Regions from separate parts of the Homo sapiens genome. Here regions 1, 3, 4 and 5 are each linked to region 2. Evidence: promoter capture Hi-C in human tissues and cell types (Jung and others, 2019). All regions are on one chromosome and are shown on one strand. Each heading gives the region's core, a stretch centred on a gene start or on the middle of the fragment in contact. The rest is flanking DNA. Distances are from core to core; before and after follow the strand shown. Region 1 has its middle 3.1 kb from the start of TTLL1. Region 2 holds the start of A4GALT (alpha 1,4-galactosyltransferase (P1PK blood group)). Region 3 holds the start of PACSIN2 (protein kinase C and casein kinase substrate in neurons 2). Region 4 overlaps MCAT (malonyl-CoA-acyl carrier protein transacylase). Region 5 overlaps TTLL1 (TTL family tubulin polyglutamylase complex subunit L1).

Region 1 (5,614 bases), core at 224-2,723, 370 kb before region 2:
GGATGAGAAGGGAAGGGGGAGAGAAGGAGGGAATGGAAAGCCAGGCCCCCCAAGGGAAACAAACAGCCACCCTGTGGGCGGTTCTTGGAGGAATAACAGGTAGGGGCGGCCCTCGTCTCCCACCAGCTCTGGGGATTGAAGATTATTTTCTTTTCTTTTTTTTTTTTTTTTTGAGACTGAGTCTCCCTCTGTTGCCCAGGCTGGAGTGCAATGGTGCAATCTCGGCACACTGCAACCTCCGCCTCCCAGGTTCAAGCAATTCTCGTGCTTCAGCCTCCAGAGTAGCTGGGATTACAGGCACGTGCCACCACGCCTGGCTAATTTTTTGTATTTTTGGTAGAGCCAGGGTTTCGTCAAGTTAGCCAGGCTGATCTCAAACTCTTGGCCTCAGGTAATCCACCTGTCTCAGCATCCCACAGTGCTGGGATTACAGGTGTGAGCCACTGCACCCGGCTGGCTTTCTTATTGTTCTCTGAGCCCCCAGGGACTCCACCCTTTGGCCCTAGGCCAGGAGGCCTGCGCTCTGGGCCTCAGCCCCTTGGGGCTAGAAAAGGGCCTGACAAAGCCAGAGCCTGAGGCCCAGCTGTCTGGCCTCTCCCTAATCCTTCTAGGTGCTCAGGTAAATGGGCAAGGAGGATAAGGAGAGATCCCGAGAGCACCTGGTTCTTTCACCTGGAGAAGAGGCAGCCTTCCCACCTCCATGCTGCAAGGGGGAGGGAGGAGGGGACAGAGACCCTGGGAAGTCAGGGCCTGTGGTGGGAAGTGGGGGAGAAGGGGGCAAGGCTGCTAGAGGCTGAGGGTGGGGCAGCATGGGGAGGAGCATGGCCAGGTCTAGGCAGGTTCGGGTCCAGCTGGCTGGCCAGGGGGCTGCAGTGGCATGGGGCGTGCCTGAGGGCTCCTGTTGGCCTCAGGGAGCATCAGACTGGAGCGAAGGTGAAGTACTTGTGTGTGCTATTGGCTGGCACTGTGACAGCGGCGAGCTGGCCTCCTGGTGGCAGTGTGAGTGGGGCTGATGTGTTGAGACATCTGCCCAGTGACGATGACTGCTGTAGTGATTGCTGCCTGGCCTTGGGCAAGTTACTCACCACCTTCAAGCTTCAGTTCCCATATTTACAAGGCAGGGAGGATGTCACACCCGTTAGAATAACTGCTATCAAAAAATAGAAGATAACAGGTATTGTCCAGGATGTGGAGGAATTGGAACTCTGGCACTGTTGGTGGGAATGTGAAATGGTGCAGCTGCTGTGGAAAACCTTATGGAGAGTCCTCGGAAAGTTCAATATAGAATTCCTACATGATCCAGCAGTCTCACGCTGGGTACATACCCCAGATAACTGAAAGCAAGGAGCCTGGGGTGGTGGTTCATGCCTGTAATGCCACCACTTTGGAAGGCCAAGGCAGGCGGATCACTTGAGCCCAGGAGTTGGAGACAGCCTAGGCAACATAGTGAGACCTGATCTCAGTTATTAAGAAAAAAAAAAAGAATTAAAAGCAGGGTCTCAGATATACACCCGTGTTCATAGTAGCATTAATCACAATAGCCAAAAGGTAGAAACTGATGAATGGATTTTTTTTTTTTGGGTGGCGGGTTCTCGCTCTATCCCCTAGGCTGGAGTGCAGTGGCATGATTTCGGCTCACTGCAATCTCCGCCTCCTGGGTTCAAGTGATTCTCCTGTCTCAGCCTCCCGAGTGGCTGGGATTACAGGCGCCCGCCACCATGCCCGGCTAATTTTTGTATTTTTAATAGAGACGGGGTTTTGCCACGTTGGCCAGGCTGGTCTTGAACTCCTGACTTCAGGTGATCTGCCTGCCTGGGCCTCCCAAAGAGCTGGGATTATAGGCATGAGCCACCAAGCCTGGCCCTGGATTTTTTTTTTTTAATTATACTTTAAGTTTTAGGGTACATGTGCACAACGTGCAGGTTTGTTACATACGTATACATGTGCCATGTTGGTGTGCTGCACCCATTAAATCGTCATTTACATTAGGTATATCTCCTAATGCTATCCCTCCCCCCTCCCCCCGCCCTGGATTTTTTTAAATGCCTTAAAAACATACAATGAAATGTTTTCAGCCTTAAAAAAAAAAAAAAAGGAAATCCATACTACAACAGGAATGAACCTGAGGGCATTATGCTACATGAAATAAGCCAGTCACAAAAAGACAAAAATTAGCTGAGTGTGGTGGCACATGCCTGTAGTCCTAATTGCTCTAGAGGCTGAGGAAGGAGGATCACTTGAGGTCCAGAGCTCAAGGTTACAGTGAGCTATGATCCTGCCACTGCACCCAGCATGGGCCACAGAGCAAGACGTCCTCTCTAAAAATAAATAAATAAATAAATAACAAATACTGTATGATTCTACTTTCTTCCTTTCTTCTTTTTCTTTCTTTTTTTTTTTTTTTTTGGAGATGGAGTCTCACTCTGTCGCCCAGGCTGGAGTGCAGTGGCATGATCTTGGCTCACTGCAACCTCCGCCTCCTGGGTTCAAGCGATCCTCCTGCCTCAGCCCCCCTAGTGGCTGGGACTACAGGCACATGCCACCATGCCCTGCTAAGTTTTGTATTTTTAGTAGAGACGGGGTTTCGCCATGTTGGCCAGGCTGGTCTCGAACTCCTGAGCTCAGGTGATCCACCCACCTCGGCCTCCCAAAGTGTGGGATTATAGGCATGAGCCACCGCGCCTGGCCTCTTTTTTTGATTTAATAAAGTTTTATTTTTGCAAATGTACAGTTGGTTGGACCTGTTCATGTATCATCACCAGCAGCTATAACATCTCCACCCTTGGTATTTCTGATGTAAATTACTTGAGCTCTGTGCTTTGAAACCAGTTTGTTAAGTCCTTTACTAAGGTTCTCCTGAAGGGCTGCCCTGGCCAGGAAGCCTCGAATCTTCAGTTTCTCAGAGACCACAGCAGGGCTTATAAGTTTATGGTTAGGAAGTTCCTTACAGAGTTTGTCATAGGTAGGTTTGTCAAACACGACTCAGTTATTGAGCTTGTCCCGGACTTTGCCTTTGAACCACTTCTTCTTTTGGGCCCTGCCCCCAGATTTGTTCACTGAATCTTTGTCTTTCTTAGCGACTTTCCGGTGTCTTCGTTCTTCTTGTCATCCATTGATAGCACGGCGAAGCTCAGAGAGCAGCAGCGAACCCTTTCTTCCCTCCCTCCCTCCCTTCCTTCCTTCTCTTTCTTTCTTCTTCTTCTTCTTTTTTTTTTTTTTTGCAGAGACGAGGTCGCCCTATGTTGCCCAGGCTGGTCTCAAACTCCTGGGCTCAGGCAATCCTCCTGCCTCAGGCTCCCAAAATGCTGGGATTACAGGCATGAGCCACTGTGCCTGGCCCAGATTCCACTTAGATGAGGTACTTAGGGAGTCTAATTCATTAAGACAGAAAGTAGAAAGGCAGTTACCAGGGGCTGGGGAAGGAAGGATGGGGAATTGTGTTCAATGGGTAAAGAGTTTTAGTTTAGCAAGAGGATAAAGTTCTGGAGACTGATTGCACAACGTGAATATATTTAACATCACTGAACTGTACATTTAAAAATGGCTAAGATGGTTAAGTTTTATGTTATACATATTTTACCACTTTTTCTTTTTTTTGTTTTTAGACAGAGTCTCGCTCTGTCGCTAGGCTGGAGTGCAGTGGTGTGATCTCAGCTCACTGCAACCTCTGCCTCCCAGGTTCAAGCGATTCTCCCGCCTCAGCTCCCTGAGTAGCTGGGACTACAGGCGTGTGCCATCATGCCCGGCTAATTTTTGTATTTTTAGTAGAGACGGGTTTCCATCATGTTGGCCAGAATGGTCTCGATCTCTTGACCTCATGATCCGCCCACCTCGGCCTCCCAAAGTGCTAAGATTACAGGCGTGAGCCACTGCGCCCGGCCAATTTACCACTATTTTTTAAAAAGTGGTGATAACACCATTAACTCAGCAGAGTTCTTGTGGGGATTCATTGAGGGGAGCTGTGGCCAGCTTCTTAGGGTAAGGCCAGCCTCATGGGCCTGTGACCTGTACAGAACCATAGGACCCCGTGCTCAGACAAGCCCTGAAGTTAGTTTAATGCTGCTGTCGCCATCTTAAAGTTCTTTTTTTTTTTTTAAGACGGAGTCTCGCCCTGTTGCCCAGGCTGGAGTGCAATAGTGCGATCTCGGCTCACTGTAACCTCTGTCTCCCAGGCTCAAACAATTCTCCTGCCTCAGCCTCCCAAGTAGCTGGGATTACAAGTGCGCACCACCATGCCCGGCAAATTTTTGTATTTTTAGTAAAGACGGGGTTTCACCATGTTGGCCAGGCTGGTCTCAAACTGCTGACCTTAGGTGATCCACCCGCCTCGGCCTCCCAAAGTGCTGGGATTACAGGCGTAAGGCACCATGCCCTGCCTTAAAATTCTTTTTTTGTTGTTGTTTTTTTTAACTTTTTTTCTCTAAGAGACAGAGTCTTGTTCTGTTGGCCAGGCTGTAGTGTAGTGGCGGGATCATAGCTCACTGCAGCCTCAATCTCCTAGGCTCAAGTGATCCACCTCAGCCTCCTGAGTAACTGAGTAGGACTGCTGGCTACGCCCCCATACCCGGCTGATTAAAAATATTTTTTCTTTTTTTTTTAGAAATGGGGTCTTGCTATATTGGCCAGGCTGGTCTGGAACTCCTGACCTCAAGTGATCCTCCCATCTTGGCCTCCCAAAGTACAGGGATTGCAGGCATGAGGCAACATGCTGGAAGGCTACAATGTTTATTGAACACTTTACTATGCCAGGCCCTAACCACGTCTTGCAAGCCTTCACTCATCTCCTGGGTTTAAGGTGAGAACACTGTAGTCGGAAGCCTTGGGACTTCTCAAGGCCTCACAACCAGACAGCAGCTGAAGGGTATGAATTGGCAATTTGGACTCCAGATAAGTGTTGGTTCCACTAGATGGTGCCAAAAGTAAATGATGATGCGCTGAATGTGCTCTGGGCCTGGGAGGCGGTTGTGTGGGAGATTATAGGAAGTGATGTTAGCAAAGCTCCAATCATCACTAAGAAAGCACACCACCACCCCTCCTGAGAGGCAGCAGCATGAATGGTCAGGTGTCCTGGGTTCAAAGCCAGACTCTGTCACTTACAAGTTGCACAAGTTTGCATAACTCTTTAAATTGATGAAATTAAAAATGAATAATTGTATAGAGAATTCGAGGTAACACAGGTCTATAACGAGAATAATAAACGTCTTTTTTTTTTTTTTTTGAGGCGGAGTCTTGTTCTGTCGCCCAGGCTTGAGTGCAGTGGCACGATCTTGGCTCACTGCAACCTCTGTCTCCCGGGTTCAAGCGATTCTCTTGCCTCAGCCTAGCCAGGATGGTCTCGATCTCCTGACCTCGCGACCCACCCGCCTCTGCCTCCCAAAGTGCTGGGATTACAGGCGTGAGCCACCGAGTCTGGCCCAGATAAACACTTTTTAAAAAAAATTATTTTATTTTTATGTTATTATTATTATTATTATTTGAGATGGAGTCTCGCTCTATCGCCCAGGCTGGAGTGCAGTGGCGCAACATCACCATTTCTTCAGATAAGGAAGCCGAGGTAGAAGGGGTAGGAGAGGCTAAACAGCGGATTGAGACCGAACCCAGGATTCGGACCTAA
Region 2 (5,464 bases), core at 835-3,334:
CTGCAAGCTCCGCCTCCCGGGTTCACGCCATTCTCCTGCCTCAGCCTCCTGAGTAGCTGGGACTACAGGTGCCCGCCACCACGCCTGGCTGATTTTTTTGTATTTTTAGTAGAGACGGGGTTTCACCTTGTTAGCCAGGATGGTCTCGATCTCCTGCCCTTGTGATCTGCCCGCCTCGGTCTCCCAAAGTGCTGGGATGAATCTTCCTTTTAACAAGGAGAGGGCAGGAGGAACTCAGCTCTTGGAGGGGCAACAGGACCTACCCGGGCTTTATAACATTGTTTTAGTTTTATTTTTACTGTTGCCTTCTAGTCTCTGAGATACTGGTGTTCCATTTAGGGTAGCAATACAAAGTTTCTCTGAAAAATACATTTGTGATCATGGAAAAGCCAACATAAAGCAAAAGCATTAAAAGTATTACAAGTGGGCCAGGTGCCGTGGCTCACATCTGTAATCACCACACTGTGGGAGGCTGAGGCGGGTGAATCACTTGAGGTCAGGAGTTCAAGACCAGCCTGGCCAACATGGTGAAACCCTGTCTCTACTAAAAATACAAAAATTAGCCATGGTTGTGCATGCCTGTAGTCCCAGCTACTCAGGAGGCTGAGGCAGGAGAATCACTTGAAACCAGGAGACAGAGGTTTCAGTGAGCCGAGATGGTGTCACTGCACTCCAGCCTAGGTAACAGAGTGAGTCTCTTCTCAAAAAAAAAAAAAAAAAAAAAAAAAAATGAGTATTACCAGTGGAGAAAGGGTCCGCATTCATTCTTTTTTTTTTTTTTTTTTTTTTTTTTTTTGAGACAGAGTCTGGCTCTTGTCACCCAGGCTGGAGTGCAGTGGCATGATCTAGGCTCACTGCAACCTCCACCTCCTGGGTTCAAGTGAGCATGTCCAGCTAATTTTTGTATTTTGTAGAGATGGAGTTTCACCATGTTGGCCAGGCTGGTCTTGAACTTCTGATCTCAGGTGACCTGCTTGCTTTGGCCTCCCAAAGTGCTGGGATTACAGGCGTGAGTGCTTGCCTGGCCTCTTGTTTCCGTTTTAAGATGGGAGAAGTAACAGCCTGTGATGGGAATGACCCAGGGAGAATGGAGAGAGGGCAGGGTTTCGGGATCAGTGTTGGCGTGAAGGGTCGGGATCTTCTGGAGGGGGTGGTCGTGGCCAGGAGCTGGACGGGTTCAGCCCGGTCCCAAGAGGGAAGGGACTGGGTGCTACCTCAGCGGGTGGGTGGGGGAGCTGGTGGGAATTTTCTACTGATTCCTTCATTCGAAGTGTATTTATTGGGCACCCATTGAGTGCCAGGCTCTTTCTCAGGGCTAGGATAGAGGTTCCATTTTCTCAGTGGCTTGGGCACTGGGTCATCAGCTGAGTGAGAGGATGGGCGTCAGCACTCAAGAAGTCACCCAATGGTTTCATTTTTTGCAGTCTTTGTTGTCCCAGAGGAGTAAGAACTAAAAGCACCAGGACTGTGACATGCTGGAAACATGGCATGTTCCAAAGAGAATAAAATACAGTTTTATGATACACGAATTGTGTGTGATACATTCCAATTTCTCACATTGAACAAATTACCAATAGCAATATGTGTGAAGATGGGGCGAGGTGAGAGTGAGGAGGAGGAGTAGAGAAAGGACGGGGCGGCGTTAAGGATACAGCAAATAACTGGAATTCCGCAAACACTGGGGTGATGCAGGCAATGCCCTTAGCACGGTCCCGGCAGGAGGCGGTGGGATCAGGCCGACCCGGGTCCCAGGGGTGACAGCGTCCCTTCTCCACTGCAGAATATCGAGGTACTCAACCCTCTGAACCTCAGTTTTCTCATCAGTTCAATGGGGAAAACGGGATGGTAACCCGTAATACTGGCGGCGCGGAGGCCGGGGAGCGCTCCCTACCTGTTGGCCGGCGGACTGGGGACTGTCCGCACCCGCCCCGGGGAGCAGCGAGGGCGCGCGGGCGGGGTCGCGGGGACCCCGCAAGGGCTCTGGGGACCGGGACCCGCAGGGTAGGTCGGGACGGGCGGGGCGGGGCGGCCTGACCCCGCCCCGGGCCGGAGGGGCGGTGCTGCCTCCCGCCGGGCCCCAGGCACTGCCCTCCGGCCGCCGCGCCGCCCGCCCGCCGGGGCCCCGCTGTCCGCCGCCCGCCGCCGCTGGAGCTAGAGGTACGAGGGGCCGCGCCGATGTTGCGGGGGACGGGGGCTCCAGGGGGATCCTGCGGCTCGCAGTGGGGAGGAGGCGCCTCGGGAAGGCAGGGGCAGGGGCGGAGGGGCTGGGCCGCCGCCCTAGCCCGGGCCACCTGTTCTGGAGGCGACATTTGTGCGCGCACGAACCCCGCGCGGCGGTCCCGGCCACCGCCTCCACCCCAACTGCGCCCCGAAGTGGAGCGCGGCGGCGGGACCCGGAGCCCCGGCCCTCGCGGGCAGGACGCGCCTGGCTCCGGAGCCCTCGAGGGCAGCCCCACCCGGTTGGGTCCCGGGGCTGGAGAGAGGGCGTCGGGGAGAAGCCGGGTTCGAGGCAGGCTCTGCCCGGCCACCGTGGGTGAGTCGCGCTCCTCCGTCCGGGGGAAGCCTGGGCGTCGGGCGGTGCTCGCCCCGGAGCGGATGCGACCGGGGACGGGGATGGAGAGCGGCCGGCAGGAGGGGGCTCTGCCGGGCTGGCAGCGTCGGCGCCGGCCTTAGGGAGGGTGAGGATTTGGACCTGCCCAGAAGCGGGAAGGGCCCTCCCCGTGCGGGAAACGGCCTGGGTACGAGCTGGGCACGGGGCGAGCCGGTTGGAGTCGCCCGGCCTCCGCGCTCGCCTCGGATCCGCAGGCGCCCCTCCCTCCTCTCCAGCTGGGGAAGGTTGAGGACTGAGCGGGAGCGGAACTGGGCTTGGGAGAGGATCTGCCGGGGCACCTGGTCCCAGCGCCCATCCCGTTTCACTGCCAGGGCGAGTCCCCTTCCCTCAGTTTCATCACCTGTCATCCGGAGGGACAAGTTCCCACCTGGATAGTCTCGGCTGAGCCTCTGGCCCTGAGTGGGTTAAAGCGCCATTTCCCCTGCACCCACCTTTCCCTCACGACACCCTCTCTGCGGCTTCCTCCCCTCCGCCAACGTCGAGTGATTGTTCCGCGAAGGCCCCTTGGGGTCACGTACCCTGCACTCAGCAAATAACCCCGAGCACCTGGTGGGTCTCAGGCCAGGTCTGGCCTTCCCGTTCCCGCCACCAGCTGCCCAAAGACTTCCCCTTTGTCACCTCCTCCCAAAGAATGAGGGAGCCACCCTGCCCAGGGTCCCATAGCAGAGTGCGGATGGAGCCAGGCCTCCCTCAAGATTTCCCACAGCCCTCTTCCAGCCTCAAACCTTCTCCAGGACCCGAAACCCTGCTACACTGTGTTTCCATAGCTGCAACCCCCCAAAAGAGGGTCCCCAAATCAAAGGAATACAAAGGAAAACAAAATAGAAAGGAAAAGAAAGGAAGAGGAGAGATGGAATCCTCTCTGTCATTAGTTTTCTGTTTGTTTGTTTTTTAGGGTCTCCCTCTGTCACCCAGGCTGGAATGCTGTGGCAGCTCACTGTAGTCTCAAACTGCTAGGCTCAAGCGATCCTCCCACCCCAGCTTCCCTAGTGGCTGAGACTGCAGGCACACACCACTACACCCAATGTTGTCATTAGTTTTTCTCTCAAACATTTTTCTAATGCCTTGGGTGCCTGTCGTTTCTTGTCTGCTAGGACAGCTCAGTATTAGAGGATAAACTCCAAAATGGACAGCCATCTACAAAATATGTTTTGTTTCCTTGTACTAATTGAAGCCCTCTAGCTGCTAGGTTAATGGGTCCATTAATTTCCAGTTCGTGTGATGGGCCCTGGGACCCCAGTGTGGAGCAGGATTGGCAGAATCTCCAGGTGGTTTGTGTGGAACACCAGGAGGTTGTGAACTACCACATCAGCCCCAGCTAGCAACTCCCAAGCCCACCTGGCCACGGGGCCACTGGGTTCAGACCTCCAAGGATGCAGTTCAGCTGGGGATGCAGGTCCCGGAAGGTGGTGGCAGGTGGACGGCCTCCACCACCAAGCCAGCCATCTGAGTTCTGAAGTGCACCTCCTCTCACTCTCCCCAGCTGCCTCCTTCTTTGGGGACCTGCTAGGCGTGCTCACAAACTCCTGTTGATCACCCTGCATTTTCATTGGCTCACCGCATGCTTCCCTCCAGATTGGAAGCTCCTGGAGGGAAGGACCCTTGTCCAGATCCCAGAGCCTAGTGCCAGGCCTGGCACCTAGCAGGTGCTTCCTGAATATTGTTTGAATGAATTAACCGAAAGAAGTAGGAAAAACAATTCCTGTTTGCATACTTGAAGACAACTATTGTTAACATTTGCCTTTTTTTTTGCCAGACCTTTAAAAACACGTTTTTCCAGCCGGGCGAGGTGGCTCACGCCTGTAATCCCAGCACTTTGGGAGGCTGAGGCGGGTGGATCACTTGAAGTCAGGAGTTCGAGACCAGCCTGGCCAACTTGGTGAAACCCCCCATCTCCACTAAAAATACAATAAATTAACTGGGCGTGGTGGCACGTGCCTGCAATCCCAGCTACTCAGGAGGCTGAGGCAGGAGAATCATTTGAACCTGGGAGGCAGAGAGTGCAGTGAGCCGAGATGGCGCCACTGCACTCCAGCCTGAGCAACAGAGCGAGACTCCGTCTCCAAAAATAAATAAATAAATAATAAAATAACACGTTTTTCTGTATTTGCATATCTTGTCTATATAAAATATTTTTCCATTAGTATAATTTCACGAGCATTCCTCATCGCAGACATTTTTTATATTTTTCAATGCTTGCATTTTGCTATGTCATGTTGAGTTATTGGATCTCTTGACTTTTTAAAAATATATTTGGCTCTTTTTGATAATGTTACATTGAATTTCTGCATACATTTATACATGGCCACATCTTTCCTGGGAAGGAATTAACCTGGTAATCAGTGCGTATGAACTTCTAGAATGGCTGTATCTGGACCCAGCTAGATATTTCTTCGTATTTCCTAGAAATGAAACTCCTGGGTCAGAGTACGAGAAGCCAGGTTCTTTGTGTGTTGCTTATTGATTGGTTTGAGCTCATCAGTAAGGTTTTACCCCTTGTCTGGTCTTTGTGTGCCAAGGATCTTTCCCCAGTTTATCATTTGGCTCTTATTTGTGGGTGTGTTTGTGCGTGCGTGGGTGTGTGTGTGGGTGTATGTCTGTGAGACAGAGAGATAGAGAGGAGCAGCAAGTTTTTTGTTTTACTTTATCTGTGTGTGTGCTTTCTGATGAGGGAGACTTGGCTGCATTTATGAGCTGATGGGAAAGCTAGAAGAGAGAGCTCAGCTCCCTCAGGCCCAGGAGAAGGAGGGACAGGTTGATAGGCTGAGGTCTCCGAGGACTGAGGAGGTGGGAGGATGCAGTGCTGCTCCCAAGGATCCTCCCGGGCTGGTGAGGACAGGAGGCAAGAGGGAG
Region 3 (5,254 bases), core at 1,473-3,972, 290 kb before region 2:
TGCAAGACAAGGAAAGGAATTTTGTGTTTGTCCTGAGAAGGAGGAGGAGAGAAAAGAAGAGGGGGAGAGTGCAGAAAACCAAAGGCATGTGAAGTGGCCAGAGTGTGGCATGGGTCACGTGACCAGGTGGTGACTCCTGGGGCCAGGCAGCCAAAAAGGCTCACGAGGCATCCTGTCTTGTTGCTGGGCAGTGCCAGGCTTGATGCCTCTCTCCAGCTTCCAGTCTTCAGGAACCCCTGCTAGACTCAGCAGTGCTTGGAGTGCAGGGGGATTCGTGCAACTGGATAAGGGGATGATGGTGAGACCAGTGAGCATGCGGTGTGTGGAAGAGCAGGAGGCCTGATGACAGACGCTTGTTCAGAAACCTTGGGAGAGGCTGCGTACAGTGGCTCGTGCGTGTAATCCCAGCACTTTGGGAGGATGAGGCAGGAGGATTGCTTGAGCCCAGGAGTTCAAGACGAGCCTGGGCAACATGGCGAGATTCTGTCTCTACAAAGATTTTAAAAAATAATTAACTGGGCATGGTGGTGCGCACCAGTGGTCGCAGCTACTTGGGAGGCTGAGGCAGGAGGATGGCTTGAGCCTAGGAGGTCAAGGCTGCAGTGAGCCATCATTGTGCCACTGCATTCCAGCCTGGGCATCAGAGTGAGACCCTGTCTCAAACAAACCAAAACAAAAACCCCCAAAAATTTGGGAGAGGCTCTGTATTTCTTTTTTTTTTTGAGGCGGAGTCTCACTCTGTTGCCCGGGCTGGAGTGCAGTGGCGCGATATCAGCTCACTGCAAGCTCCGCCTCCCGGGTTCACGCCATTCTCCTGCCTCAGCCTCCCGAGTAGCTGGGACCACAGGCGACCGCCACCACGCCTGGCTAATTTTTTGTATTTTTAGTAGAGACAGGGTTTCACCATGTTAGCCAGGATGGTCTTGATCTCCTGACCTCGTGATCCGCCCGTCTCGGCCTCCCAAAGTGCTAGGATTACAGGCGTGAGCCACAGCGCCCGACAAGGCTCTATATTTTTATAGGGCATGGAATTGCGATGTAAGCGGAACTTACCCAGATATGAAAGTGCTGAGAGCTGATGGCTGAGTTCTATCTATACAAATGGTCCACAGGTATTGTGGGTGGCAAAGAGGTCCCTGTTGGCTCAGTCCTGGAGAATGAGGAGAGACTTCTTGGCAGTGGTTTGTCCTGGCACTGTGTGTTGGTTTTTTTTTTTTTTTTTTGAGATGGAGTCTCGCACTGTCGCCAGGGCTGGAGTACAGTGGCGTGATCTTGGCTCACTGCAACCTCCGCCTCCCAGGTTCAAGTGATTCTCCTGCCTCAGACTCCCAAGTAGCTGGGATTACAGGTGCATGCCACCACACCCAGCTAATTTTTTGTATTTTTAGCAGAGACAGGCTTTCACTGTGTTGGCCAGGCTGGTCTCAAACTCCTGACCTTGTGATCTGCCCGCCTCGGCCTCCCAGAGTACTGGGATTCCAGGCGTGAGCCACCGTGCCTAGCCGGTTCTTTTGTTTCTTTCTCAATTATTGTCATAAGGACAATGCCACAGAGCAGTCTAGAAAGTAAACAACCACTAGATTTCTTTGTGGACTCTTTTCTCATACCTATCTATATGTAGCAGCAATTCTACAGTTTCTACCATTTTGTATCTAGCTTTTTCTTTTATTATTATTTTCTTTTATTTTACTTTTTAGAGAACTGGGTCTTGCTATGTGGCCCAGGTTGGCCTCAAACTCCTGGGCTGAAGCGATTCTCCTGCCTCGGCGTCCCAAGAAGCTGGGATTCCAGGTGCATGTCACCATGCCTGGCTCTATCTGGCTTTTTCTTTTAACGTTTTAGTTTAAGCATTTTCCCATAGTGCTACACAGTCATCATTATTATTCTCAAGGGTTGGGCTGACCTGGGTTTCTAATCCTGGCTCTGCCATTTACTCTCTTTACTCCACATCACCCCCAGCAAGTTACCTGGCTCACCCCTCACCTGGGGTTCCTCTCACCATCCTCTCCACCTGGATGACATGAAGCAGTGCTTGGACAGCGCGTAGGACAGTGCTCAGGAAGTGCTCTCCATTTTCCTTCAAGAGTATTTCCCTCTGCAGAACGGGGCTAATACCCTATCATGCAAGGTGATTGTGAGAATTGGAAAGAATGCGTGTGCATTGCCTGGTGCCTTGCCATCCAAATATATTTTATTAGAGAGAGCAGCAACATACGCCCCCCCAACCCCCCGTTTAAACTAAGCGGGTCCACGTGGAATGACGCTTTTGGCGCAAGTCGGAGGAGCTCCTAACGACATTAGCTTCTTTGAGTCCCTTGGGAGAGGAAACTTTCTGAAAGACTGTAGGATTACCTTCCCTGAACTTCCGGTCAGGTGCGGTGCTGCCCTGCCGCGCCCTCTTACCCCTGGATGCCGACGAAACCGCAAAACTCCAGCCCCGGGAAGCGCGTCTCAAGGACCACCACCAGCGAGCGGCTTTGGGAGAGTAATCTGCGCCACCCTCGCAGCCCATTAAATAGGCACTCCCCGTTTGATTGACAGGAGAAGTCACCAATGCGCGTCCTGGGGCTTTCCCTCGTCCTCACGCGGGGTGAGCCGCCTCTCTACTCATCTGGCCCAATCGGGGGCGCCGGGGAGGCTGTGGGGCGGGGCTCGGTGTCCGGTAGCCAATGGACAGAGCCCAGCGGGAGCGGCGGGGGCGGTGCGGTCGCGGCTGGCGGCAGAAGCGGCCGCAGGGGTCTGGGCAGGGCTGGGCAGTGCTGCCGGAGCAAAAGCGGTAGCGGGAGCCCGGCCGGAGCTGGGTCTGGAGACGCCGTGGCAGCCTGAACGGAGTGTGCGACGGATTGGGAGGTGAGTGGCCGCCGAGGTCAGGGGTCGCCGCGACGGTTGGGGCGCCGCGGGCGGGACGCGGGGGCGCTGGTCCGCGGCCGGGCCCGCGCCCCGTCAGGGCCGCCGCGCCGAGCTCCGCGCCCTGAGGGAAGCGGGTCGGGCCGCGCGGAACTTCCTGTCTCTGTGGGAGGGGGCGAGTGCTCGGGGCCCCGGGGGGCGCCTGGAGAAGACATCTTGGGGAGGACGAGGGCGAGTGGGGTCGGCTCGGGGAAGGGGCGGGGGCCCATGGGGGCGGCGCTGTGGGAGCGGGGCAGTTTTCCGGGGTCCGGGGCCTGCTGGAGAGGGAAGTGCAGGAGCAGGGCCGTCGGGGGTTAAGAGCTGCTAATGAGTGGGGGAGGTGTAGACAGCTGCAGAAGGGGGAGCTGGGGCGACTTTTGGAGGGACGCGATTTAGGAGAAAGCTGGGAATCCGAGACGTGCAGAGGTTAGGCGAGGGTGCCGGAGCAACGCTGGAGGGAAGGCGTGGCTGGGACGCGCCGGTGAGAGGGCAGGGCTTAGTCCTGGGGTGGCCTGGGGGGCGACGCAGGACACACGCGGGTGCGCTGATTTCGGGCGCTTTGATGAGCGGCCTCCATTTCCTTCCTTCCCACCCTCCGTGTCCCGGGGGGGGGGGGGTGGTGTGTGTGTGTCTGTGTGTGTGTGTGTGTGTGTGTGTGTGTGTAGGGCGGGGGGAGCAAAGCCCTTACCGCAGCACGTCCTAGGGCTGGGGCCAAGCAGGAGAGGCCGGGGAGGTTTGCCCTTGTGACCCTCCTCAGAGTTTCCCCAGACTCACTGAATCAGAAATCCGAACTCCTTACTCCTCTAGGGCTTTCAAGCCTGGCCAGGCATCCTGAGAGGTCCGCAATTGGAGAGGTAGTGATTGCTGCTGCTGTTGAATTTCATTGATTCATTGGGTTTCGGCTCCATCAGAGAAGGTCGATTTTCTTTTCAGAAGGAGTTGGTTGGTCAGGGGAGCAAGCTGTGCTATTGCTTTGGGGCCCACACGGCTGCAGCCTTTGACGTATAACAGGACCTGGGGATGCCACTCTTGGCTTGGGTGCCTGAGGGAAGGTGGCCTTTGGCTGGGTGTGTGCACCATTCCTGGATCCTGTCTTCTCTTTTTCCCTCCGCCTGTCCGGTGTTTTTGTGGTTAAGGGGGTAGGCTGCTCAGAGTCTCCAGGGCTACTTGGTACACTGTTTACCAAATACTGCCTGGCTGTCTTGATGAAAATCAGGAAACCAGCTCAAAGAGTTTGAACCTCAGCTGCAGATGGTGAGCTCACACCTTCTTCCTTCCCTCCTTTTCGGTGCCTTCCTCTGCGGTTATTCCCGTGTGCTGAAGTTCTGTTTTAACCCTCCTGGGATTGCCAGGTTGGAGCCCAGGGCAAGGGAACCGACCAGGCAGGCAGTGTTGAATGCCAGCCCTCCTGTTCTTGCCCAAGATGTTGTCGTTCCACTTGATTCATGAGCCTGCCTGCATGCAGCCTCCTCATGGAGACATTGAAGCTGTGCCAGTGCAACTTGGATCTCTCTTGATTCACCTGGAAAACTTTCACTTGTGTGGACTTAAACTTAATTCTAGAGTTTGGTAGCCTCTTTGGTGAGGTTATGCTGGTTGAGATATGAGGCCACTACATCAAAAACATTGGTGTGTTTTTCTTTTGACAATAGACTTAAAGCTTTAAAGAAAGTGGCCATTAGGCTGGTGATATTTATTACTTGGGAAAGTAACATAACACAGAGAAGTAGATGGGTGATTAGGTCTGCACTCTTTATCCACTTTTTGGGAGAAGAATAACAACTCATTTGAATGGAAATGGTATCCTTAGCTCGTGCTGCTTTGGGACTTGGAACTTTATCACTTTTAATCTCAAATGTATATGAAGTTGTGATGTGATATTTAAATAATCTAGGCTGGGCGGGGTGGCTCACGCCTGGGATCCCAGCACTTGGGAAGGCCGAGGCGGGCAGATCACCTGAGGTCAGAACTTAGAGACCAGCCTGGCTAACATGGTGAAACCCCGTCTCTACTAAAGATACAAAAATTAAGGCCGGGCGTGGTGGCTCACGCCTGTAATCTCCAGCACTTTGGGAGGCAGAGGCGGGCGGATCACCAGAGGTCGGGAGTTCGAGACCAGCTTGACCAACATGGAGAAACCCCATGTCTACTAAAAATACAAAATTAGCTGGGTGTGGTGGTGCTCATACCTGTAATCCCAGCTACTTGGGAGGCTGAGGAAGGAGAATTGCTTGAACCCAGGAGGCGGAGGTTGCGGTGAGCCAAGATCCGGCCGTTGCACTCCAGCCTAGGCAACAAGAGCAAAACTCCTGTTTCAAAAAAAAAAAAAAATTAGTCTGGCGTAGTGGTGCACACGTGTAATCTCAGC
Region 4 (5,716 bases), core at 1,167-3,666, 420 kb before region 2:
AACCAGGAAAGCTCCTCCTAAATAAAGGGGCAGGACTCAATGATTGTCAAGGTCACTTTTGTGTGTCCTCTTCCAGCTGGTGCACCAAGTTCGTAGAACCTGGCTCACTGAGATGCTGAACACCCCGCCAGCTCTCAGGTACAGAGCCCTGGAACTGGGATCCCCAGGAGAGTGAGGGCTCACGTTCTGCATCTGTCCCCACAGGTGATTGAGAACTGTGTTGCTGCTGCTGGATTCAGTGTGGGAGAGTTTGCAGCCCTAGTGTTTGCCGGAGCCATGGAATTTGCTGAAGGTACAGGAAGGAGTTTGGTTTTATGCAAGGCTGTGGTCTTGGGCTCATTAGGGGTAAGGGACACTGCCAAAAATGATACTGGACCCACTCAGGTGATGGGAAGGGAGCACATGGACAGGGGTGACATTGGCACATGAGGACAGGGCTTTGCTGTGATTCCTTTTCAAGACTGAAGGATTCATTAGGGATTTCCCTTATTTTTGTAATCTCATGAAATCTGCTTGCTGAACTGTCTAACCCGCTATCCTGTGCACTCATACCTGCAGCACCTGCAACACGAGAGTATGTGTTCAGTAGATATTCGTTGAATTAAAGAGTAAATAAATATTGGATCTGGAGCCATATCAGTTTTACTTCTTAAGATTTTTGCTGGCCAGGAACCATGGCTTACGTCTGTAATCCCAGTGCTTTGGGAGGCCAAGGCAGGAGGACCACTTGAGGCCAGGAGTTCCAGACCATCTTGGGCCACATAGTGAGACCTTCATCTCTGCCCCCAACAAAAAACAAAAATTACGTTGGGTGCAGTGATTCACACCTGTAATGCCAGCACTTTGGGAGGCAGAGGCAGATAGATGTTTGAGCCCAGGAGTTTTAGACCACCCTGGGCAACATGGTGAAAACCCCATCTCTACCGAAAATACAAAAATTAGCCAGGCATGTTGGTGTGCGCCTGTAGTCCCAGCTCGAGTACTTGGGAGGATGAGGTGGGAGGATTACCTGAACCCAGGAGGTCAAAGCTGCAGTGAGCTGTGATCGTGCCACTGCATTCCAGCCTGGGTGACAGAGTGACACCCTGTCACACACACACACATACACAAAATTAGCTGCACTTAGTGGCATGCATCTGTAATTCCAGCTACTCAGGAGGCTGAGGGAAGATCACTTGAGCCCCTGAGTCTGAGGCTGCAGTGAGCCACGATTGTGCCACTGCACTGCGGCATGGGTGACAGAGCAAGACCCTGTCCAAAACAAACAAAAAAGAATCTAGTATAGAAACACGAGAGGTTATTGGGACTGGAGAGGGAGAAATGGAGAGTGCCTACATAGTGGACATGGAGTGTTTGAAACTAGAGAGAGTTGGTGGTTGTACAACATTATGAATACCCCAAATACCACTGAATTATACACATTAAAGTGGTTAATTATATTTTATGTGAATTTCACTGCAGTGCTTTTTTTTTAAGCGTTATAACATTATTAAGGAAAGTTTCATAATTTCACATTTTATGAAACAATTTTATTACATGTATCATTTTATGTGTACATAATGTGCAGAATTAGGCTTGGTGTGGTGGCTCACGCCTGTAATCCCAGCCCAGCACTTTGGGAGGCCAAGGTGGGTGGATCACCTAAGGCAGGAGTTTGAGACCAGCCTGACCAACGTGGTAAAACCCCATCTCTACTAAAAATTCAAAAATTATCTGGGTGTGGTGGCGTGCACCTGTAATCTTAGCTACTTGGGAGGCTGAGGCACAAGAATCACTTGAACCAGGAGGCAGAGGTTGCAGTGAGCCGAGATTGTGCCACTGCACTCCAGCTTGGGTTAGAGAATGAGACTCTGTGTCAAAAAAAAAAAAAAAAGTGCAGAATTATAGCATAGTTACACTTTTGTGTTTTCTTTTTCTTTTTCTTTTTTGAGGCAGTATCTTGCTCTGTCACCCCAGCTGCAGTGCAGTGGTGCAGTCGTAGCTCACTGCAGCCTCAGCCTCTTGGCCTCAAGTGATCCTCCCGCTTCAGTCTCCAGACTAACTGGGACTACAGGCTCACACCATCATGCCCAGCTAATTTTAGAAGTTTTTGTAGAGATGGGGTCTCGCTATGTTGCCAGGGCTGGTCTGGAACTCCTGACTCAAGTGATCCTCCAGCTTCAGCCTCCTACAGTGCTGGGATTACTTACAGGCATTAGCCACTGTGCCTGGCCTACTTTTTTCCCTTGACATTTTACATAGTTTTGAATGTCTCTGTGGGAGGATGTCTGCGTGCTCTCCTCCCTTTTCTTGTATGTTTTCTTCTACTTCTTGTCACAGGCTCTTGTTCATTTGTTTTTTAAGAGACAGAGTTTTCCTCTGTCTTCCAGCCTTGAGTGCAGTGATGCAACCATAGCTCACTGCAGCCTCTAACTCCTGATCTCAAGCAGTCCTCCTGCCTTAGCCTCCTAAGTACCTGATGTCACAGGCTGTTTATGTATTTGTCCTCCTGTTCTTGTGTAAGGGAGCTAAAAGTCCAGTACATAGAAGTGCTAAGTGAATGAAGATATGTCAGGATTTGCTCCTTAGACCTCTCTGTTGACCTGTGAAACACTGTGCAGGTCCCTTAATCTCTTCTCAGTCTGGTCATCTCTTCTCTCTGCCCAGGAAGCAGGACCAGGGTGTCAGGGGTCTGGTAGTTTCAGGCCATTCTTATGTGTGGCTTTGTAGGGATTTTTGAGACAGGGTCTCGCTCTGTCACCCAGGCTGGAATACAGTGGCATGAACACAGCTCACTGTAGCCTCAACTTCCTGGGCTCCAGCAATCCTCCCACCTCAGCCTCCCAAGTAGCTGGGACCACAGGCGCACACTGCCACGCCCGGCTAATTTTTGTATTTTTGGTAGTGACAGGGTTTTACCATGTTGTCTAGTCTGGTCTCGAACTCCTGAGCTCAAGTGATCTGCCTGCCTTGGCCTCCCAAAGTGCCGGAACTACAGGTGCGAGCCACAGCGACCAGCCCTCAGGCCACTCTTATTATCATTGGCACTGCCTGCCCTCTCTCCATGCTCTTGAGCCACACTGAATCAGGAGTCATAGGTTTTCGTTCATCTGCATTGGCTGTGTCAGGTTCTCCAGCTCTAAGTGGGGACAGTAACACTTGACTTATGACAATTATGTCACTGAAATTCATGTAGTACAGTAGCCCATGTCTCTGATGGTTCTTTTTTGTTGTTCTTGTTTTGAGACAGGGTCTTGCTCTGTCACCAGGCTGGTGTGCAGTGGAGCAATCATAGCTTACTACAGCTGCAGCCTCAACCTGCTGGTCACAAGTGATCCTTCCGTGTCAGCCTCCCAAGCATCTGGGACTACAGGCAGGCACCACCATGCCTGGCTAATTTGTATTTTATTTTTTGCAGGGACAGGGTCTCCCTATGTTGCTCAGGCTGGTGTCGAGCTCCTTGGGCTCAAGCCGTCCTGCCTCAGCCTCCCAAAGTGCTGGGATTACAGGCATAAGCCACCATGCCCGGCCTGATCTCTCTTAATAAACTAACTAATAATAATTCCCAGCTTTCACAACAGCCCAGGCAGATTAGATATTATTATCCTCATTTTACTAACTAAAAATTTGAACCTCAAGGAGGTTGTGACTTGGCTAAGGCAATGTGGCTTCCACCCTGTTCCTCTTTACCTTTTACCAGGGTTTCTCAATAGTGGCACTATTTAAAAAAAAAAAAAAACAGTGGCGCTATTGGGCCAGGTCATTTGTTTTGTTGGGGGCAAGGGGGGCTGACCTGTGCAGTGCAGCATGTTGAGCAGCATCCCTGGACTCTACCCACTAGACGTCAGTGGCACTCTCCCCTAGTCAGAACAACCGGAAAACGTCTCCGGACACTGCCCCCGGCCTGTTGAGCACCACTGTCCTACTCCAAACCAGCTTTATAGCAGGAAGCTCCTTGGGTTAGTTTGTATAGTGCCAAGCACAGCAGCATACTTTTGGTGGTGAGCGCTTGTGCAGTCGATGGAGGTGTGTGGAACTGTGGCCCTGCTGGCTGGTGGCAGACACCAGTGCCCCTGTCTCTAGTGCAGAGTGGAGCTTGGGCTTTGTTTCTCAGGCCTGGCCTTTTCTCCTTCATTCTGTGCCCTCATTTTTCCAAATGCGCTTCTCTCTGGCCAGGTTTGTATGCAGTGAAAATCCGAGCTGAGGCCATGCAGGAAGCTTCAGAAGCTGTCCCCAGTGGGATGCTGTCTGTCCTCGGCCAGCCTCAGTCCAAGTTCAACTTCGCCTGTTTGGAAGCCCGGGAACACTGCAAGTCTTTAGGCATAGAGAACCCCGTATGTGAAGTGTCCAACTACCTCTTTCCAGATTGCAGGGTGATTTCAGGACACCAAGAGGTGGGTGTTGATGGGAACTGCCTTCATAGGCCAGTCCAGTACGGAGGGTTGGAACTGCTCCACACCCGTGAGGCCTAGCAGTCTGGCGGGTGCTGGGTCCAGCCCGGTCTTTAGGAAGTATTTTGGGGCCAGGGCAGTGAGGTAGACCGAGTGCTGCAAAGCAGGCAGGAGCAAGAATGCTGCCCTGCTCCACCACGTGTAGAATGGGGTCTGGAACCAACCAGCCAGCCCATGTCTAAAGTAAAGGGGCAGGGCCAGCTGATCTCCAGGGCCCTTCCCGTAGTACATTCTGGGCTTCTGAGGAGCCTGTGATCTGGTTGCTTCCTTAGAGAAAAGAGATTTGTTTTCTGCTAGATTGCTCTGCCTGCCCTGCTTTTTTTAGGTGTCTGTTTTTGCCCTGGAGTTCATTTCCTTTCCACCGTATTTCCTTCCATTTGCTACTTCCCCAAACATTTATCAAGGGCTGGGGACGCACAGACTGATTAGCCAGGGTTCCTGCCGTCAAAGGAAGAGCCCCGTGAATGGATGACTCCAGGCCGAGGGGTGCAGTGAGGGTCTGGCTGGCTACTCATGGGCCTAAGAGCAACCCAGGAGGCAGCAGCTGGAGGACGGGCATGTGTTTGCCAGCAGGGGGCACCCTGAGCAGAGCGGCAGGAGCCCCCTACAGAAAGAGCAGTGGGTGCTGAGTGCCTGGCTCAGGGAATGCTGAGTGAGCGCAGATTGCAGCCCGTGTGAGGGGCTGCTGCCCGGGCCAGGCATTTCTGTCTTACTTCATGTCCCTCACAGCCCATCCTGTGCTATATGGAAGGAAGGGATTCTTTTTTTGTTTGTTTGTTTGAGACAGGGTCTCACTGTGTTGCCTAGGCTGGAGTATGGTGGCACCATCACGGCTCACTGCAGCCTGGACCTCCTGGGCTCAAGTGTTCCTCCTACCTTAGCCTCCTGAGTGGCTTGGATTACAGACACGGGCAACCACACCTGGCTAACTTTTGTATTTTTTTGTAGAGACGGGGTTTCACCGTGTTGCCCAAGCTGGTCTTGAACTACTGGGCTCAAGGGATCCCCCCACCTCAGCCTCCCAAGTAGCTGGGACTACAGACACAGGCCACCACACCCAGCTAAAGGAAGGGATTCTTAATCACATTTTCCACACAAGGATGCTGAGGCAGAGAGAGGCAAGTGCTTGGGGATAGTAGAGGCAGAATGGGAACCTGAGTCTGTCTCACTCTGGAGTCTGTTTCCGCCACTTGACCGTGCTTGGCTCCCCTTCCCCTTTGAGGGCTCACCGTGTGCCAGGCGTCCTCAACTGCCTCCTCTGAAGTAGTGAGAGCTGGCAGGAGCCT
Region 5 (5,669 bases), core at 2,842-5,341, 340 kb before region 2:
TCCCAGCACTTTGGGAGGCCAAGGCAGGCGGATCACTTGAGGTCAGGAGTTTGAGACTAGCCTGGCCGACATGGCAAAATCCTGTCTCTACTAAAAATACAAAAATTAGCCAGGCATGGTGGCTGGCGTCTGTAATCCCAGCTACTCAGGAGGCTGAGGCAGGAGAATCATTTTAACCCAGGAGGTGGAGGTTGCAGTGAGCCAAGATCACGCCAGTGCACTCCAGCCTGGGTGACAGAGGAAGACTGTGTCTCAAAAATATATATATATAAATAAAAATTGGCAGACTGACACCAGCCCATCATCACCCAAAGGCCATAGTTCACATTAGGGTTTACTCTTAGTGTTGTCCATTTTGGGAGCTTAGACAAATGTATAGTGACATGGATCCACCATTATTTTATTTATTTATTTTTTGAGATGGAGTCTTGCTCTATTGCCCAGGCTGGAGTGCGGTGGCAGGATCTTGGTTCACTGCAAACTCTGCCTCCCGGGTTCAAGCGATTATCCTGCCTCAGCCTCTGGAGTAGCTGGAATTACAGGCACCCGCCCCCATGCCTGGCTATTTTTGTATTTTTAGTAGAGACAGGGTTTCACCATGTTGGCCAGGCTGGTCTCGAACTCCTGACCTCAGGTGATCCACCCGCCTCGGCCTCCCAAAGTGCTGGGATTACAGGCGTGAGCCACCAAGCTCGTCCAGATCCACCATCATAGTAACATACGGAGTAGTTTCACTGCCCTCAAAATCCTCTGTGCTCTGCCTGTTTATCCCTAGTCTGTGGCAACCACAGATCTTTTTACTGTCTTTATTTATTTATTTACTTATTTATTTATTTGAGATGGAGTCTTGCTCTGTCACCCAGGCTGGAGTGCAGTGGTGCCATCTCAGCTCACTGCAACCTCCACCTCTTGGGTTCAAGTGATTCTCCTGCCACAGCCTCCTGAGTATCTGGGACTACAGGCACACACCACCACACCGGGCTAATTTTTTTTCTTTTTAGCAGAGACGGGGTTTCACCGTGTTGACCAGGCTCGTCTTGAACTCCCGACCTGAAGTGATCCACCCGCCTCGCCTCCCAAAGTGCTGGGATTACAGGCGTGAGCCACCGCGCCCAGCCAAAACTCTTTAATTTTTTAATTTTAATGAAGTCCGGCTTATCAGTTATTCCTTTCTTGGATTGTGTCTTCGTTATTGCATCTTTTACCATCTAATTTTTACTTTCTCTGCCATGTTTAGGTTTGTGTCTCAATCTAATAAGGAAGCCTACGTGATCTCTCTCTATATTAACAACCCGTTACTAATTGGCGGGAGGAAGTTCGACCTGCGCTTGTACGTTCTGGTGTCCACGTACCGTCCACTGCGCTGTTACATGTAAGCGTCCCTAAGGTTTTGGTTCCCTCTTGATTGTGTTTTCACCCAAAACGTCTTTCTTCTTAGCACCATTGTGAGGTTTCATAAAACAGTGCATGTGCGGTGCCTGGCACGGGGCAGGGATTGAGGGAAGTAAGAGCAGTCAGGCCCGATGCCGATGTGAGTCGTGTAAATCACACACACAAAAGCAGCTCTTTTTAGAGAATGAAGTGGTGTCTTTTCTTTTTGTTTCTCCTCAGAGTTTGAATTAATCTACATTCCCTCCTAGGTACAAGCTTGGGTTTTGCCGGTTCTGCACAGTGAAATACACCCCGAGTACCAGTGAGCTGGACAACATGTTCGTTCATCTCACCAACGTCGCCATCCAGAAACACGGGGTGAGTGTGTCCTTTCATTTGTGCTTACAGAAATGGACTGACTTTCAGGCCGGGTGTGGTGGCTCACGCCTGTAATCCCGGCACTTTGGGAGGCTGAGGCGGGTGGATCACCTGAGGTCAGGAGTTCGAGACCAGCCTGACGAACACAATGAAACCCTGTCTCTACTAAAAAAAAAAATACGGAAATTACCATGGTGGCTGGCGCCTGTAATTCTAGCTACTCGGGAGGCTGAGGCAGGAGAATCGCTTGAACCAGAAGGCAAAGGTTGCAGTGAGCCGAGATTGCACCATTGCACTCCAGCCTGGACAACTGAGCGAGACTCTGTCTCAAAAGAAAAAAAAAAAAAAAAGGACCGACTTTGTGGGTTTCTTTCTTCTATTTTTGCAAGAACAGGGTGGGTATAGAAGTGATACTCAAAGAGTATCCTGGTCTAAGGTCCGGCACTGATGGGACTGGGAGGCTCTAGGCATCAGGCGGGCTGGCCTAGGACACATCAGCTGAATGCCGTGGCTGGGTGGGGGCACCTGGAGAAAGAAGGCAGCAGGCTCAAGCCCTGCCTTTCTAGTTCTGTGGCCTCGGGCAAGTCAGTGTAACTCTCAGAGCCTCGGTTTCTCCATTTATAAAAGGAGATCATAGTATTACCTGGCGGGACTGTGGGAGGATGTCATGAGGTGACTTCTGCTTAGACCATCCCTGAGGTACCCTGCCTCAACTTACAATTTTTCAAGCTTCCAGTGGTATGAAAGTGACATGCATTCAGTAGGAACCGTACTTCAAGTACACATGCAACCGTTTGGTTTTTTACTTTGAGTACAGTAGTCAATAAATTATGTGAGGTATTTCACGCTTTATTATAAAATAGGCTTTGCCTTAGATGATTTTGCCCAACTTCAGGCTATTGTAAGTGTTCTAAGCATGTCTTAGATAGGCAAGGCTATGATATTCAGTAGGTTAGGTATAGAAAACGCACTTTTTTTTTCTTTTTGAGGCGGAGTCTCGCTCTGTTGCCCCGGCTAGAGTGCAGTGGCATGATCTCAGCTCACCACAACCTGTCTCCCAGGTTCAAGTGATTCTCCTGCCTCAGCCTCCTGAGGAGCTGAGACTACAAGCATGTGTCACCATGCCTGGCTAATTTTTGTATTTTAGTAGAGATGGGGTTTCACCATGTTGGCCAGGCTGGTCTCGAACTCATTTTCTCAAGTGATCCGCCCACCTCAACCTCCCAAAGTGCTGGGATTACAGGCGTGTGCCACTGCGCCTGGCGTTAAATAATGCAGTTTCTTTTTTTTTCTTTTTTCTTTTCTTTTCTTTTTTTTTTTTAAGAGACAGAGTCTTGCTCTGTTGCCAGGCTGGAGTGCAGTGCCGTGATCTCAGCTCACTGCAACCTCCGCCTCCCAGGTTCAAGCGATTCTCCTGCCTCAGCCTCCTGAGTAGCTGGGATCACAGGCGTGCGCCACCACGCCCAGCTAATTTTTGTATTTTTAGTAGAGATGGGATTTCCCCATGTTGGCCAGAATGGTCTTGATCTCTTGACCTCGTGATCCACCCTCCTCGGCCTCCCAAAGTGCTGGGATTAGAGGTGTGAGCTACTGCGCCCGGCCAAATCTACTTTCAACTTACAATATTTTCAACTTGCTATGGGTTTATCTGGACATAGCCCCATCGGAGGCCCCATCTGTACCCATTGAGTACCTATGTGAGTTGGTCCCCTTCTGAGTGCCCAGGACACAGTGATAGGCAAAGCCTACCTTAGTACCTACTCTCACAGATCCCAGAGCTTCCAGGGGAGATAGTCATCAAATAATCACCCTGATGAACATGAAATTACAAACTGAGCTGCTTGCTCTGAAAGTGAGGAACACACATCTAGAAGATCATGGAACAAAAGAAGCCCCTTATCCAGTGGTTGGAGAAGGCTTCCCTGCAAAGCGGTGCTGGAGCCGAGATCTGAAGCATGAGTAGGGATAATCCAGAGAGGGTGGAGAAGGTTCCATAGTAGTAGGTACAACGTGTGCCGAGGCCCTGTTGCCAGAGGGAGCATTACAGGGGCTGAAAGGACGCCAGGGTAGCAGGAGCCCCTGGCGTGAGGGCAGTGGATGGGGAGGGACTGGAGAGGCCAGCAAGGGCAGACACACAGGGCTTTGTGGACCCAGTTCAGGTTAGGGGCTCTAATTTCACCCCAACATAAACCAAAGGTCTCGTTTCTTTATGAAAGACTCCTTCTTTGATTTGAATCTTCTTTGGATGGAAGCCTTGAATGCTCTGGTCTGTTTTCTGATTTGAGGAGAAAGAGAGTGAGTATTGGTATGAAATATGCATTTCTGAAGAACCTGCTGAAGAGTTTGGTCAGACGAGGCTGGACTCGGTCCTCTGCCCATCACTTACCTCTGTGTGACTTGGGCAGCTCACCAGCCCTCTGGGCCCCACAGCTGCCAACAGGAGCCAGGGGTTCACCTTGCTGGTCTTGGGATGACGATGGCCACTGCTTACCGGGGCCAAGTGGCTTCCACATGTGGCTGGCCTAACTCGCTTCCCCTTCAGGTCTTCCTCAGAGTAAACCAAGCAAGCATCAGTTTTACAAATTTTATTTTTTATTTATGTATTTATGATTATTAGTTTTTTTAGACAGAGTCTTGCTCTGTCACCCACGCTGGAGTACAGTGGCAGGATCTCGGCTCACTGCAACCTCTGCCTTCCGGGTTCAAGCGATTCTTCTGCCTCAGCCCCCCGAGTAACTGGGGTTACAGGTGCACGCCACCACACCTGGCTGGGGTTTTTAGTAGAGACGAGGTTTCACCATGTTGGCCAGGCTGGTCTCGAACTCCTGACCTCAGGTGATCCTCTCACCCCAGCTTCCCAAAGTGCTGGGATTACAGGCGTGAGCCACCGCGCCTGGACTTTCTTTTAAAATATGGTTAATTCTCCTTTTATCTGCTTTGAGTCAGTGGTGTTTGCTCGAAGAGTTAGTAGGCTGGTTTTGTTTTAGTTCATGGTTCTCACTTTATACTTAGAAAATGAAATGTAGTCTCCTAACAATGTAATACATTTGGGTATTTTCTAGCTCTTTGCCTTCAAAGATAAGCATTGTATGGAGAATTAATTTTCAGGGGTGGCAAAACAGGAAGAGCTCAGAAGTGGCATCAGAACATTTGGGCTGGAGGCCCAGCCCCATCCCAGCCCAGGAGGAAAGCTTGGCCAAGTAACAGCTTCTCTGAGCCCGGCGTCCCCTGTGAAATGGGATGATAATGGCGTCTTCTCAAGGTTGTTAGAGAGTGATGAGTGTGGTGCTTTTAAACTGCAGTGTGAGCCCAGTGTCTTAGGTTGGCTTCCCCAGGAAAGACTCTGAGGTAGAAGTCGGCAAGCTGATGTTGCTGCAGTGGAGGCCTCTGCCCACCGTGGGGCGCTGTGGAGCAGGGGTGGCCCTGCAGAGCTGTCCTGGAGGGAGCAGGGGCTGACACCTGGCATCAGCCAGACATGGTATGCTGTTGCCTTGGGGAGGGCTTTCACCCTGGATTAGGCAGCTCCCTCAAGCCAAGGGCACTCTCAGTGAGGGTGGGTCTCAGCTAGAAGAATGAGTGCCTTGGTCTTGAAGGGTATCCCGGCAGCACTCCACAGCCTGTGCTGTGAGGCATAAATGATTAAGCCTGAGAGTATTAGGGAGATGAGCATTTTAAAATACCCACGGAAGGCCAAGCGCGGTGGCTCACAGTGCAGTAAGCCGAGATCGTGCCATTGCACTCCAGCCTGGGTGACAGAGTGAGACTCTGTCTCAAAAAACAAAAATAAAAACAGAAAAACCCCACATTAATAGGAGGCCCAGGTGGCCGGGCACAGTGGCTCATGCCTGTAATCCCAACACTTTGGGAGGCCAAGGCAGGAGGATCCCTTGAGGCCAGGAGTTCAAGACCAGTCTGGGCAA

Evidence for each region. The method cuts DNA at HindIII sites, captures the fragments that hold promoters and counts their contacts. A contact is called where the count stands out against the background at its distance.
Region 1: a fragment that was not itself captured here is called in contact with the fragment with the promoter of A4GALT in region 2 in 5 of the 25 tissues and cell types used here (H1 embryonic stem cells, aorta, liver and 2 more).
Region 3: a contact is called between the fragment with the promoter of PACSIN2 here and the fragment with the promoter of A4GALT in region 2, in 4 of the 25 tissues and cell types used here (liver, lymphoblastoid cells, mesenchymal stem cells and 1 more).
Region 4: a fragment that was not itself captured here is called in contact with the fragment with the promoter of A4GALT in region 2 in 3 of the 25 tissues and cell types used here (IMR-90 fibroblasts, aorta and mesenchymal stem cells).
Region 5: a contact is called between a fragment that was not itself captured here and the fragment with the promoter of A4GALT in region 2, in 3 of the 25 tissues and cell types used here (lymphoblastoid cells, mesenchymal stem cells and spleen).

What each region holds. Positions count from the first base shown.
Region 1 is chr22:43,089,665-43,095,278 of GRCh38, reverse strand. It overlaps the pseudogene RPS25P10. Among named protein-coding and RNA genes, the nearest start is that of TTLL1, 3.1 kb to the right of the region's middle. RefSeq lists a silencer at 4,914-4,973. The HindIII fragment of the contact is 8,604 bases long and covers 1-5,614 here.
Region 2 is chr22:42,717,490-42,722,953 of GRCh38, reverse strand. It overlaps A4GALT (alpha 1,4-galactosyltransferase (P1PK blood group)), which reads left to right and starts at 2,084. Exons shown (of 3, transcript NM_017436.7): 1 at 2,084-2,157. RefSeq lists silencers at 1,985-2,174, 2,205-2,434, 2,515-2,644. The HindIII fragment of the contact is 38,593 bases long and covers 1-5,464 here.
Region 3 is chr22:43,012,617-43,017,870 of GRCh38, reverse strand. It overlaps PACSIN2 (protein kinase C and casein kinase substrate in neurons 2), which reads left to right and starts at 2,722. Exons shown (of 11, transcript NM_001184970.3): 1 at 2,722-2,850. RefSeq lists enhancers at 2,235-2,434, 2,417-3,120 and silencers at 2,555-2,744, 2,755-2,804, 2,925-2,994. The HindIII fragment of the contact is 29,159 bases long and covers 1-5,254 here.
Region 4 is chr22:43,135,738-43,141,453 of GRCh38, reverse strand. It overlaps MCAT (malonyl-CoA-acyl carrier protein transacylase), which reads left to right. Exons shown (of 4, transcript NM_173467.5): 2 at 205-292; 3 at 4,156-4,373. Among named protein-coding and RNA genes, the nearest start is that of MCAT, 4.8 kb to the left of the region's middle. RefSeq lists an enhancer at 3,846-4,015. The HindIII fragment of the contact is 7,455 bases long and covers 1-5,716 here.
Region 5 is chr22:43,059,893-43,065,561 of GRCh38, reverse strand. It overlaps TTLL1 (TTL family tubulin polyglutamylase complex subunit L1), which reads left to right. Exons shown (of 11, transcript NM_012263.5): 6 at 1,238-1,372; 7 at 1,641-1,749. Among named protein-coding and RNA genes, the nearest start is that of TTLL1-AS1, 24 kb to the right of the region's middle. The HindIII fragment of the contact is 4,055 bases long and covers 2,064-5,669 here.